Regions from separate parts of the Homo sapiens genome. Here region 2 is linked to region 1. Evidence: promoter capture Hi-C in 16 types of primary human blood cells and fetal thymus (Javierre and others, 2016). All regions are on one chromosome and are shown on one strand. The core of a region is centred on a gene start or on the middle of the fragment in contact, and the rest is flanking DNA. Distances in the headings are between cores, read along the strand shown.

Region 1 (6,754 bases), core at 1-2,500:
CCCACGTCAGTTGACCTCAGTCCTGGAGACCAAGTCCTGGAAGTCCTGGCGGTGTTCTCTGATTGCGGCCCTCGTTTCGGAGTCCCGCCCAATCGCAATGGCCACGCCCCTTGGCTGAAAGCCACGCCCCTGCACTGGGCCACGCCCCTGCACTGGACCACGCCCCTGCGTCCCAGATCTTGCCCTCATCACCCCAAGTTCCAGTCCTAGGCTCCTCCTACTGGAGACACCGGAGTACAAGCATCCCTTTTAGCTCTCACTCTAATTGTGTATCTGTTTCGGAACCTTTTCTCCGTGTCCCTTCTGGTTTTCCCGCTCCCGCTCCACTAAAAAGTCCCGTTGTCTCCGGAAACCCTAAATCCAGTCTTATATTTCATCTTCCAAGGAACCCAGAATCAGACTTCCTTTTCCCTGAGGACCTCAGGTCCGGACTCCCGCCCCCTCTAGTCCCGTAATTTTGAACACGCAGCCTTTCACCCTTAAGGGACCGGGCCCTAAGCCATCTTCCCTCAGGCACCAAAGCTCTCTTCCCCGTCCCGGGACAGCCGCCAGCCGTCTCCAGTCCACTAGCGCCTGTAGATGAGGAATCTGCACCTACGTGGGCCTCCAATAAACTCCCGGTGGTCCTGCCCACGACTCTTAACTGTGGTGAGGTCACAAGGAAACCAGGTCGTCATAGGAATCAGTCAAAACCCATCCCCAGACCCCAATCCTCAAAAAAAAAAAAAAACAAAAAAAACAAAAAACAAAAAAACCAAAAACCAAACAGAAAAAAAGAAAAAAAACCTCAGGGCTTAACAGTAAAGACTCTTTGTATTCGTATCACTTCCGCACCCCCAATACACAAACACGAGGGTAGCCGGGATTCCAGGCGCCTAGCCCCGTCCCCTCTCAGACCTAGGAGCCCATATCTCTCTCCAGCCGCTTCCTCTCCCAGACCCAGGAGTCCCAGCCCCCAGACCCAGGAGTCCCAGCCCCCAGCCTCTCCTCCCTCAGATCAGGGGTTTCTGGCTCCTATCAGCCTTTTCCCTCCGACTTGGAGTCCGAACCCCCAATCCCCCTCCTTTCCCAAGCACCCAAATCCTGAGTTCCTACCAGCCCCGAGATAGACTAATCTCTCCCAAAGCAAAAATCCTTCCCCAAACTGTCACCGTCGGATCCCCCTTCCCGCTGTCCGCCGGCCGGGCCCGCCCCCCCCTCCGGTCCCTCCCACTTTTCCCAAACAAAGCTCCCGGCAACTTTCTCCCTCGCAGCGCCCCGCCCGCCCGCGGCTCCCCAGCCCCAGGCCGGGAGGTAGGAAGGCGCCGGCGGGAGTCGGGGATCCTGCTTTGGGGTGTGTGAGTTGGGGTGGGGAGTTGCTTCTTAGGAGGTGAGGCGTGCGTTTGCGGGACCGTCTCTGAATGGTTCGCAGCCCTCTTTTTGCCCGGGGGCCCGAATTTGCTCCCGTGACCGAGCCTCAGTGAGGAGTGGGAACTCTGGCCGGAGTTAGGGTGCCTGCGGCTGGGTCTGAGTTTGGGCGTGCGCGCAGGAGCGGGTGCGGGCCAAGGGCGCTGGCGGGGTGTGGGGCGTGCGTCTGCGGCGGTGTCACTTTGGAGTGAGAAGGACCCCTTGTGTAATCTGGGGGGCATTTGGTCCTTCTTACGGAGAAGGGAGGGCCTCTGGGGTGGCCGAGGGGAGGTTACGGGGCTTTCTGGATCTTAAGTCTTGCCTCTTTGGAGGTTTAGGGTCTGGGGCGGGAAATTAGGGGGACCTTTCTTACCCGGCTCCACCGTCCCTTTGTCTGGCCACATGGGGAAGGGCTGGGCTGGGATTTTGGCCTACGGGGGTCCTGAACGCCGCAGCGCCACTGGGCTTGGCTGGGGTCTTTGTCTGCTATGGTCGGCGGGAGGAGGGGAATAGGGGCCTGGACTCTGGGGTCCTGGGAAAGCTGTGGAGGACATGGAGCCTCCGGGGAGGCGGGATCTGACTGTATTGGAAAAAGTTTTCCCTGTTCCCGGCCTCCGGAAAGTCACTGGGAACTTGAGTTGGATCAGAGCCCACGGCGCACGGGGGAGGGGAGGGGCGGGGCCCGGTGCCGGAGGGGAGTCGCCCTGGCCGGCAAGCCCCTCCCCTGATGGGGGTTGTGGGAAGCTGGGGGAGGGGACGCCTGGGCCCTTTGTTCTGGCTCTTCTGATGGCAGGGCGCCCCTGTCCCCCAGCTTGTGGTTCTGTGGGTCTCTCCTGGTCTCGGCCTCAGCTGCTGCCCTGAGTCTCTGTCCCTGCCCTTTCTAGGTCTCCGTCTCCCTTTCTCTGGGTCTCTGTTGCCCTCTCTCTGAGCCTCTGTCCCCCTCTCTCTGAGTCTGTGTCCCCCTCTCTCTGGGTCTCTGGTCCCCTCTCTCTCTGGGTCTCTGTCCCTCTCTCTCTGGGTCTCTGTCCCCCTCTCTCTGGGTCTCTGTCACCCTCTCTCTCTGGGTCTCTGTCTCCCTCTCTGGGCCTCTGGACCCCTCTCTCTGGTCCCTGTCCCCCCCCCCCGGTCTCTGTCCCCCTCTTTCTGGTCTCTGTCTCCCCCTCTCCCTGGGTCTCTGTCTCCCTCTCTTTTTGGGTCTCTGTCCCTCTCTCTGGGTCTCTGTCCCCCTCTCTGGTCTCTGTCCCCCCCTCCCTCTGGTCTCTGTCCCCCCCTCCCTCTGGTCTCTGTCCCCCTCTCTCTCTGGGTCTCTGTCCCCTCCGTCACTGGTCTCTGTCCCCCCCTTCACTGGGTCTCTGTCCCCTTCTCTCTCTGGTCTCTGTCCCCCTCTGTCTCTGGGTCTCTATCCCCACCTCACTGGTCTCTGTCCCCCTCTCTCTCTGGTCTCTGTCCCCTTCTCTCTCTGGGTCTCTGTCCCCCCCCCTTGCTGGTCTCTGTCCCCATCCCCTCTCTGGGTCTCTGTCCCCCTCCCTCTCTGGGTCTCTGTCCCCCTCTCTCTAGACCTCCCCTCAGTCTTGCTTGGCCCCTCTTCTTTTCTGGCAGCTGCTGCTCACATCTTACCACCTGTTCTTGGGGTGGGACAGGGGAAGTTTCACCCACACCTTCCTTCCCCACCACTAACTTTTGCCTCCTGTCTTCTTTAAAACCCGTAATTCATACCCGAACCTTTAGCCTTCATGGCCCTCGGCATTACTCTAGGGTAATCATTGTGACTTCATCACAATTGAGTTCCTCTGGAAACTCTGAGAACACTCCCATCCTCAGCTTTCCAAGAAATCCAGCTCCTTCTCCTCCCTCAGACTCAGGAGTCCAGACCCCAGCCCCTTCTCCCTCACACCCAGGAGTCCAGGCCTCCAGCCCCCGCTCCCTCAGACCCAGGAGTCCAGGCCCCAGATCCTCCTCCCTCAGTCCTAGGAGTCCGGGCCCCAGCCCCTCCTCCCTCAGACTCAGGAGTTCAGGCCCCAGATCCTCCTCCCTCAGACCCAGGAATACCCCCCAGCTCCTCTTCCCTCAGACCCAGGAGTCCAGGTCCCCAGCCCCTCCTCCCTCAGACCCAGTGGTCCAGAGTCCCAGCCCTCTCAGCTTCAAGTCCCTTGAGGGTGGGGTTTGGGGGAAGCTTGCTGAGTTCTGTGTTCCTCCAGGCCCAGATGGGGGAACCCCGGGCTGGGGCCGCCCTGGACGATGGCAGCGGCTGGACGGGCAGTGAGGAAGGCAGTGAGGAGGGTACCGGCGGCAGTGAGGGGGCTGGGGGTGACGGGGGCCCGGATGCAGAGGGGGTGTGGAGCCCAGACATTGAGCAGAGCTTCCAGGAGGCCCTGGCCATCTATCCACCCTGCGGCCGCCGGAAAATAATTTTGTCTGATGAAGGCAAGATGTATGGTGAGTCTACTTCTGTCTTTTGCCCTGGCCCCCACTGATGAATAATGACAGTAACCAAGGTTTATGGAGCACTCTGAAGTAGGAGCTAGCATCACCATTTGCACAGATGAGGAAACTGAGGCACAGCTAGGTTAAGTGATTTGCTTATGGTCGCACAGAGCCAGTGCGTGATGGAGCTGGGATTTGAACCCAAGCAGTCTGGCTTCCACGTAGCTGAGGGGACCGGCAGCCCACTTGCTGCAGACCTTTGGGGACCCATGCTGCTTTCTTCTTCCCTGGTGTCCATGCTGTGGGGAAGTTCTGTTGAAAGTCTAACTAACTCTGTTCCGTCTTTGAATCTTCAGGTCGGAATGAACTGATCGCCCGCTACATCAAGCTGAGAACGGGGAAGACCCGAACTCGAAAACAGGTCTCGGAATGGACTTGTGGGCTTCTGTCTGGGATGGGCCGGTCTTCTTAGGGTCATCCTCGCATGGGCAGGTTCAGGTTCAAGGAAGAAGCTGCTTCCTGTGCGTTCATCTGTCTTCTCGGCATGTGTGTTAGTCCGTTTGTATTGCTATAAAGAATTACCCGAGGCTGGGTTATTTATGTATTTGTTTATTTTTTGAAATGGAGTCTAGCTCTGTTGCCCAGGCCGGAGTGCAGTGGCGCGATCTTGGCTCACTGCAACCTCTGCCTCCCGGGTTCAAGCAATTCTCCTGTCTCAGCCTCCCGAGTAGCAGGGATTACAGACATGCACTACCATGCCTGGGTAATTTTGTATTTTTAGTAGAGATGGGGTTTCACCATGTTGTCCAGGCTGGTCTCGAACTCCTGACCTCAGGTGATCCACTCACCTCAGCCCCCCAAAGTGCTGGGATTGCTGGGATTACAGGCGTGAGCTACTGTGCCTGGCAAGGCTGGATAATTGATAAAGAGCTTTAGGCTGGGCCAGTGGCTCATGCCTGTTATCCCAGCACTTTAGGTGAGCGGATCAGGAGGTCAGGAGATCGAGACCATCCTGACCAACATGGTGAAACCCCGTCTCTACTAAAAATACAAAAATTAGCTGGGAGTGGCAGTGTGTGCCCATAATCCCAGCTACTCGGGAGGCTGAGGCACGAAAATCGCTTGAACCCGGGAGGCGGAGGTTGCAGTGAGCCAAGATCGTGCTACTGCACTCCAGCCTGGTGACAGAGCCAGACTCCACCTCAAAAAAAAAAAAAAAGAAAGAAAGAAAGAAAAGAGCTTTATTTTGGCTCACAGTTCTGCAGGCTGTCCAGGAAGCATGGAGCTGGCATCTGCTCCTGGTGAGGCCTCAGGAAGCCTCCAATCATGGCGGAGGGGGTAGTGGGAGCAGGCCTGGCACATGGAAAGTGGGAGCAACAGAAGAAAGACAGAGGTCCCAGACTCTTTTTAAACACCCAGATCTTTTTGTTGTTGTTGTTTTTGAGAGAAAAGTCACTGTGTCTCCCAAGCTGGAGTGCAGTGCCGTGATCTCAGCTCACTGCAGCCTCCGCCTTCCGGGTTCAAGCGATTCTGCTGCCTCAGCCTTCCAAGTATCTGGGATTACAAGCATGCGCCTCCACATCTGGCAAATTTTTATTTTTTCATTTTTTAAATATTTTTTTGAGACGGAGTCTCGCTCTGTTGCCCAGGCTGGAGTGCAGTGGCGTGATCTTGGCTCACTGGAAGCCCCGCCTCCCGGGTTCAAGCGATTCTCTTGCTTCAGCCTCCTGAGTAGCTGGGACTACAGGCGCGCACCACCACACCTGGCTAATTTTTTGTATGTTTAGTAGAAGTAGGGTATCGCCATGCTGGGCAGGCTGGTCTCGAACTCCTGACCTCAGGTGATCCACCCGCCTCGGCCTCCCAAAGTGCTGGGATTACAGCTGAGCCACTGAGCCCAGCCCTAATTTTTGTGTTTTTAGTAGAGACAGGGTTTCACCATGTTGGCCAGGCTGGTCTTGAACTCCTGACCTCCAGTGATCTGCCCATCTAGGCCTCCCAAAGTGTTGGGATTACAGGCGTGAGCCACCACACCTGGCCTAAACAACCAGATCTTGTGTGAACTGAGTGAGAAGTCACTCATCATCAAGGAGATGGTGCAAAGCCATTCATGAGGGGTTCACCTCCATGATCCAATACCTCCCACCAGGCCTCACCTCCAACACTGGAGATGGCATTTCAATATGAAATTTGGAAGGGACGAATGTCCGAACTGTATCAGCATGTCTGTTCGTGTGCTCTCACTGTGCCTGTTTGGGGATAGTTTTTCTAGTGGTTGTGTTAGACCCAGAGTAGCCACAGAGAGAGCATGGTGGAGGGGAAGGAGGCCTGGATGGGATGGGTCCCGGGAGGGTCCGTGGTGTTCACGAGCTCCTTTATGGACATCTGTGTTCGGGTGCTCCCGAGATGGCTCTCATCTTCAGTGTGTTTTTCACCTTTCATGGTCCAGCAGCTCAGTGAGGCACCTGGAGGGAGAGAAGGGGTAGTGAACACAGGGGCGGTGGCTGTGGCCTGAATCTGCTTCTCCGTTGATCCTTCCAGGTTTCTAGTCACATCCAGGTTTTGGCCCGAAGGAAATCAAGGGAAATCCAGTCCAAGTTGAAGGTAGGGACCAATGCAGACATCCTGAGAGGGGGACAGAGACTGGGGGTGGGGGACCGAGACCCAGAAAGAGAGGGACAGAGACCCAGGGAGAGGGGGACAGAGACTTAGAGCGGGGAGGACTGAGACCCAGAGAGAAAGGGACAGAGACCCAGGGAGAGGGGGACAGAGACTTGGGGGAGGGGACCAAGACCCAGAGAGAGAGGGACAGAGACCCAGAAAGAGAGGAGGACAGAGACCCAGAGAGAGAGGGACAGAGACCCATAGACAGAGGGGGACAGAGACCCAGAGACAGAGGGAGACAGAGACCCAGAGACAGAGGGGGACAGAGACCTCAGGTGAG
Region 2 (7,140 bases), core at 1,751-4,250, 550 kb after region 1:
GAGATGGGGTTTTGCCATGTTGGCCAGGCTGGTCTCGAACTCCTGGCCCAAGTGATCCACCCATCCCGGCCTCCCAAAGTGCTGGGATTACAGGTGTGAGCCACTGCACCTGGCCTTCCTGTGACAGATTTCTATGCCAAGTTTCTCCCAAGAAACCAAGCCTGGTGCCTCTGAAGGCAGCCTTCAAGGAGGGCATGACTTCCCCATTCTGATGCCCCCCTGGCTGGCAGGAGACAATGGATGGCAGGGACCCCATGTCCCGGGGACTGAACTTTCTTCCCCGCTCCATTTCCTGCAGGGGGCAGTAACAGCCATGACCAAAGCTTTGGCCCTGGATGAAAGTCCATATGGTGTCCGAGTCAACTGGTGAGCTGCTCTGAGCAGGCGGAGAGCCTCCTGGGGGGACTGGGGTGACTGGGAGTGATCCCAAGTGGTTCGAGACAGATTGCTTTGATCCCCCCTCTCCCTTCCTCTAGTATCTCCCCAGGAAACATCTGGACCCCGCTGTGGGAGGAGCTGGCAGCCTTAATGCCAGACCCTAGGGCCACAATCCGAGAGGGCATGCTGGCCCAGGTAGAAGTGGGGTTCAGATCCAGGTGGTAGAAGGTGGCATGGGGGTGGGGGGCATGGCGATCAAGTGGGGCTCCTCTTGACCTCCTTCCCCCCTCTTTTCTCCCCAGCCACTGGGCCGCATGGGCCAGCCCGCTGAGGTCGGGGCTGCGGCAGTGTTCCTGGCCTCCGAAGCCAACTTCTGCACGGGCATTGAACTGCTCGTGACGGGGGGTGCAGAGCTGGGGTACGGGTGCAAGGCCAGTCGGAGCACCCCCGTGGACGCCCCCGATATCCCTTCCTGATTTCTCTCATTTCTACTTGGGGCCCCCTTCCTAGGACTCTCCCACCCCAAACTCCAACCTGTATCAGATGCAGCCCCCAAGCCCTTAGACTCTAAGCCCAGTTAGCAAGGTGCCGGGTCACCCTGCAGGTTCCCATAAAAACGATTTGCAGCCAGAAGGAGGAGGATATCGTTATATTTATTTCCCATCCTTTAGACGAGTCCTTCTGCCCCACTTAGCCCTTGCACCCCAGACCCACAAGTTGCCTCGACCCTGAAGGACTGCAGCTCCCCCCGCCCCCCAACCCCAGGCCTTGCAGCAAGCAGGTGCCTGATGTTGCTAGCCCTGTCGCTGTCGCCAGGGGCTCCTGGGAAGGGTAGAGCGGTTTGGCTTCACCAGCGCGCTAACTAAAGGCCCGCAGGGGAGAGTAAATTAAGCGCTAATTAGGAGGTAATGGAGGGGGAGACGCAGAAGGCCCTCTTACTCTTGGCCCTCAGGGAAAAGGAGTTTTCCTCTCACTGCCTGTAGAATAGGAAGGTGGCTGGCAAGAAAAGTCCAAAGGGAAGAGAAAGTAGGGGGTTGAGACATCTGGATCAGAGGGAGGAGGGGCTGAAACTCCTGGGTTTTGGTCCGCAGGGCACTGGGGGACGCAGACTCCCCAGCTGGACCCAGGGGGGGGGCAGGGCCCGGGTGCGCTGGCGTCCCCCAGGTGAGGGGTGGAGCTGCAGGGCTGCTGCGGATTGGCTGTGGCCGGGGGGGCGTGTGCACCAACCGCTGATTGGCCGCGGCGGGGGCGGGAGCTGTCAGTGGGCCCCGACCCTACAGCCCGGGGCTGGCGGGTGGGGCAGGAGGACTGGGGCGGAGCGCAGAAAAACAGGGCGACGCCCTGTGAGGGAAGGGTCCCGCGGTTTGGCTGTTTGGGCCTGTGGCTGTTAGGGGTGGCAGGATAGTGACCCGGGGACAGGACTTGGGGGCACTGTGGGGGTAGAATTTGGAGACAGAGTGTCCCAGGGTAGGATTGCCGAGACACGATGGCCGAGGGATACGATTTTTTTTTTTTTTTTTTAATTTGAGACGGAGTCTCACTCTGTCGCCCAGGCTGGAGTGCTGTGGTGCAATGTCGGCTCACTGCAACCTCCGCCTCCCGGGTTCAAGCGATTCTCCTGCCTCAGCCTCCCGAATAGCTGGGATTACAGGCCCCCGGCACCACGCTCGACTAATTTTTGTATTTTTATGTATTTATTTTTATTTATTTATTTATTTTGAGACGGAGTCTCACCCTGTCACCCAGGCTGGAAATGCAGTGGCGCGATCTCGGCTCACCGCAACGTCCGCCTCCAGGGTTCAAATGATTCTCCTGCCTCAGCCTCCCTAGTAGCTGGGATTACAGGCGCACACCACCACACCCGGCTAATTTTTGTATCTTTAGTAGAGACGGGGTTTCACCATGTTGGTCAGGCGGGTCTTGAACTCCTGACCTTGTGATCCGCCCACCTCGGCCTCCCAAAGTGCTGGGATTACAGGCGTAAGCCACCGTGCCTGGCCTTAATTTTTGTATTTTTAGTAGAGACGGGGTTTCCCCATGTCGGCCAGGCTGGTCTTGAACTCCTGGCCTCAGGTGATCCACCCGCCTTGGCCCCCAAAGTGCTGGGATTACAGGTGTGAGCCACCAAGCCAGGACTTTTTTTTTTTTTTTTTTTTGAGACGGAGTCTCACTCTGTCGCCCAGGCTGGAGTGCAGTGGCATCATCTCGGCTCACTGCAACCTCTGCCTCCCCGATTCAAGCAATTCTCCTGCCTCAGCTTTCCGAGTAGCTAAGATTACAGGCGCCCGCCACCACGCCCGGCTAATTTTTTGTATTTTTAGTAGAGACGGGGTTTCATCATGTTGGACCAGGCTGGTCTCTAACTCCTGACCTCAGGTAATCCGCCCGCTTCGGCCTCCCAAAGTGCTAAGATTACAGACCTGAGCCACTTCGCCTGGCAGGGACCGTATTTCAAGTCCTGCCCTCCCACCAGCGCCTGCGCCCCGCAGCAGTGTCCGGCTCCCTGCCGACGCCCTGGAGCTGGGACGGCCTGGGGCGCTGGTCGGCCGCCTTCCCCCAGAAGGAGGCGTGAGCGGGGCGTGGCCGGAACGTCTCTCTTCGGAGCCGCGCCCCGGGCGGGCACAGTTACGCGCCGCACGGATCATGGCCGCAGCCGCTCTGGGGCAGGTGGGTTCGCAGCCCCGCGCCGGGGTCTGGGAAATAACCGGGGGAGGCGCACTTCCGGGAAGACCACTGGCCTGCAGCCGGTCCGACTCGGCGCCGCTCCTCCCGCCCTGGGGTTCCGCTGCAGGGCGCGGAGGAGGATGGCGCCCTTTGGAAAGGAGCACGAGGCTTTAATGGGGTGAGGGGGAGCAGGTAGACGCGGATGAGGTGGGGCAAGTAATTGGCGGGGAGGTAAAAAAAAAAAAAAAAAGGGAAACATGGTGGAGGACCCTGTAATGAGGGAGGCGTGGGGGTGGGGAGGTTGTGATTTGGGGAGCGGAGCCCTGGGGTGCGGTGGGGCATCAGCCTGTGCGGGAGCTGGAATAAAGGGGCCCAGACCTCCAGGGCCGGGTGCAGGTGAAGGCAGAGTTGGACCTCAAGTCTCAGCTCTGGGAATTGGACTCAAGGTCCTATTTTCTTGGAATGAAAGTTGAAAAAAATAAGAGATGGGGATTGCTGTGCTTCCCAAACTCCTATCTGAAGCTTTGCACCTGGATTGGAAATCGAGGCAGCGTCTCATGGTCAAAGTGACAGATGCTGCAGGCTGGCTGAGACGATCCCTTCTGACTGTGCGATGTCAAACAGCAGCAGCGTTTCCCAGAGTCTATGATTTCAGAGAACAAGGTTTCTCAGTGAGGAAGGAAACAGCCAAAGAAAGGGGTCATTACAAGCCTTCACAGCTGCGGTGTAACCTTGGGAGAACTGTCTGTTAACTTTACACCTGACTTTATTTGAGTCTCTTATCCTAGCTGATGAATGTCAGGGCAGAATTTCACTTTTTTCGGCTCTTAGTGACTGATAGGGATAGTCCTGGGATACCTGGGGTATGTGGGCAATCTGGGCTTTAGTGGTGACACTCCTGGACTGTGGTGGGGCAGTACTGGGCTTTGACAGGTCCACTTGGGACTGATGTGGACCGTCTCATCATGGCACAGTTCTGGTGTCATAGAATGGCCCTGAACTCATGATGGGACATTCCTAGGCTCTGATGAAGATAGAGATATCCTGTAATGGAGATAATTGGGCTGAGTCCTCAGCTGTGATGGGGACAGTCCCGGGGTGTGGAGAGGACAGTGCTGGACCATGGTAGGGACAGTCTGGAAGGTACTGGCCTAGACAGCAACATAGGGATAGTCCTGGGGATTGAAAAAGACAACAATGGGATTTTTTTTTTTTTTTTAATTTCAGACCTGGTGAATAGGAAATAAGCCCTGATATTTGGCAGAGACAATGCTGGTTATAATGGGGAAAAGTGCTGGGCTTTGGATAGGGGACATTCCTGAGCTGTTTGGGACAGTACTTGGCTCTGCTGGGGACCAGTTCTGATAAGTTACAGGCACAATCTGGACTTGTGATGTGGAGCATCTTGGGCCATCATAGAACAGCCCTGGTCTGTGATGGGGGAGAGTCCTGGGCTATAAAGGGGGCAGTTCTAGACGTGATGGGGTCATGTGTGGGCTGTGACAAGGGCAGACTGCGGTATGATGGGGTCTCTCCGGGGCCGTGATATGGGGACAGTCCTGGAGTATGGAGGGCACTGCTGGGCTTTGACAGTGACACTCCTGGTCTTTGATGGTGATACTCCTGGGCTGTATGGGACATAATGGAGGTTCTATCACATTATAGAGACCTGCCCTGTGAACCCCCAAACGTACTTTATTTCTTTGTCTCGTCTTTTCTTTTTGACCGAGTCTTGCTCTGTTGCTCAGGCTGGAGTGCCGTGGCACGATCTCGGCTCACTGTAACCTCCGCCTCATGGGTTCAAGTGACTGTGGTGCCTCAGCCTCCCGAGTAGATGGGCTCAAGCGATCCACCTGCCTCAGATTACAGGCATGAGCCACCATGCTGGTCTTTTTTTTTTTTTTTTTTTTTTTTTTTTTTGAGAGACACTCTATCACTCATGCTGGAGTGTAGCAGTGTGATCGTAGCTCACCACAGCCTTGACCAGTAGGTCAAGGTGATCCTCCCACCTTAGCCTTCTGAGTAACTGGAATTACAGGTGTGTGCCACCATACCTGGCTAATTTTTAAATTGTTTGTAGAGACAGGGTCTTGCTATATTGCCCAGGCTGATCTTGAACTCCTGGCCTCATGCAGTCCTCCCACCTCTGTCTCCTAAAGTGCTGTGATTACAGGCATGAGCTACTGAGCCAGCTGCCTACTTTCTTTCTTTGTTTTTTTTCTTTTTAATTGAGACAGAGAGTCTTGCTCTGTCGCCCAGGCTGGAGTGCAGTGGCACCATCTCGGCTCACTGCAACCTCCGCCTCCTGGGTTTAAGCAATTCTCCTGCCTCAGCTTCCCAAGTTGCTGGGACTACAGGCGCCCGCCACCACACCCAGCTAACTTGTATTTTCTGTAGAGACAGGGTCTCCCTATGTTGCCCAGGCTGGTCTTGAACACCTGGCCTCAAGCTATCCTCCTGCCTCGGCCTCCCACAGTGCTGGGATTACAGGCGCGAGCCACTGCGTGTGGCCTCTTTCTATGATTAGATCTATTTTGGCATCTCTTGTTTCTTGGCGTCAATTTCTGTTTTTGTTTTTTTTTTTTTCTGTTTGTGCGCCCCTTTCTGTGTTTCTTTTTCTCATCCTTCCTCTTCCATCTCTTACTCTCTTTTTTTCATCTTGGCTCTGAGGGCAGCTCTCCTGCCCACAGGCTGGCTGTCGCACTGTGTTTGTGTCTCTCATACTGTGGGTGTCCTATCCCTCTGGGCAGAAGCATGGCTGCAAGGCTGAGCAGTCTAGATGTCGCCACCCAAAGGCAATCTGGGGACCCACGCTCTGATCACCCCGGAATCCCTGGAGCCTCACACCAGCAAGACCACGCTGCAGGCCCATCTCCCAGCAACTCACCTAGCGACAAGTGACCACGCCCATTCACGTCCATCTTCCAGAATCAGTGCCAACTCACCCAGCTCACAGGGCAGGCCAGGCCAGGCCACTCTGTCTCTCTCAACCTCACGCCCCAACGCCTCCCCACAGGGCTGGGGAAAGAGGCCTTGTGAGGTCAAAGGTCACCAGAGAGGGCCCAGCCTGCTGGACACAGCCAGACCTGCTCTTCCTACTCCCCTCTGGGAGGACCCGCCTGAGCCTCATGCAGTGAGGACTGCAGTGGCTCCCCAGGCCCCTGTAGCTGCCCCTCAGCCCCAGGGGCTGAAGGGAATTGGAGTCACTGCCAAAATGGGTTTGTATTTCAGGTAATCAGAGCCCAGTTGATCGAATACCTTCAGAGAATAAGCACCTGTACTCCTGGGTCTGGCGGAGGAGGGGCTGGGGAACTGGACTCCTGGGTCTGAGGGAGGAGGGGTGGGGCCTGTACTCCTGGATGTAAGGGAGGAGGGTCTGAGGCCTGGACTCCAGGGTCTGAGGGAGGAGGGGCTGGGGGCCCAGACTTCGGGTCTGAGGGAGGAGGCAGCTAGAGTCTGGACTCTTACTTAGGTCTGAGGGAGGCGGGCCTGGGGTCTGCACCCCTGAGCTCTGGGGGAGCAGGACCTGTCGGTCCTTGGTCTTCTAAGGCCTGTCAGCACTTGGGTACCCGGAGGCCTTCACTTACCTGTGTGCCTTCCCTGGTTGTTTTCTTGTCTGAGCTGATCTCCAGGCTGCGACCAAAGGTCTCTGGGGTGGGAGGCGCTTGCGTTTGACTTTGCCGCAGCATGGAGGAGGGGGCGGGAGCTGACTCAGCTCTTTCCAGCGAGCCCTCGTCAGGGCAGGGAGGGGACTTGGCCTCCTTCAGGACCACCTGCCCCGTCTAGAATGGACTGAAACTGGGACAGAACAGGCAGGCCAGTGGGACCTCCAAGTGCAGGAGGTGGCGAGCGAGCTGCCAGGGCCCCTGCTGTGCCCCACTCACCCCCTCTCTCACTTCTTTCTCCACCCAGATCTGGGCACGAAAGCTTCTCTCTGTCCCTTGGCTTCTGTGTGGTCCCAGAAGATATGCCTCCTCCAGTTTCAAGGTGAAAGGAGGGAACTCGATGCTTGGCTCTGAGAGAGGAGGGGGCTGGCAGCTGGTTTTGGGCATCTCCAAAAGGTCCACAGCCCAGAGATGGCAGTGAGTGGTGGTAGCT

The links. The method cuts DNA at HindIII sites, captures the fragments that hold promoters and counts their contacts. A CHiCAGO score of 5 or more calls a contact.
Region 2: the fragment with the promoter of BCAT2 here is called in contact with the fragment with the promoter of TEAD2 in region 1 in 2 of 17 cell types (naive CD8 T cells and M1 macrophages); the score reaches 5.5 in naive CD8 T cells.

Annotation. Positions count from the first base shown.
Region 1 is chr19:49,356,912-49,363,665 of GRCh38, reverse strand. It overlaps TEAD2 (TEA domain transcription factor 2), which reads left to right and starts at 1,250. Exons shown (of 13, transcript NM_001256660.2): 1 at 1,250-1,333; 2 at 3,585-3,822; 3 at 4,167-4,231; 4 at 6,352-6,414. The coding sequence starts at 3,591. It also overlaps a transcript of DKKL1 not described here. RefSeq lists enhancers at 1,457-2,165, 2,166-2,875, 3,421-3,921. The HindIII fragment of the contact is 6,430 bases long and covers 1-3,561 here.
Region 2 is chr19:48,806,889-48,814,028 of GRCh38, reverse strand. BCAT2 (branched chain amino acid transaminase 2) reads left to right here and starts at 3,000. Exons shown (of 11, transcript NM_001190.4): 1 at 3,000-3,045; 2 at 6,955-7,029. The coding sequence starts at 3,022. It overlaps LOC105372432 (a long non-coding RNA gene), which reads right to left and starts at 6,660. Exons shown (of 3, transcript XR_936017.4): 1 at 6,630-6,660; 2 at 5,930-6,060; 3 at 3,192-3,685. HSD17B14 (hydroxysteroid 17-beta dehydrogenase 14) reads left to right here. Exons shown (of 9, transcript NM_016246.3): 7 at 299-366; 8 at 477-573; 9 at 681-1,011. The coding sequence ends at 854. RefSeq lists enhancers at 158-769, 2,783-3,077, 3,351-3,420, 6,866-7,140, silencers at 1,425-1,734, 2,811-3,030 and a cis regulatory region at 1,381-1,921. The HindIII fragment of the contact is 3,241 bases long and covers 326-3,566 here.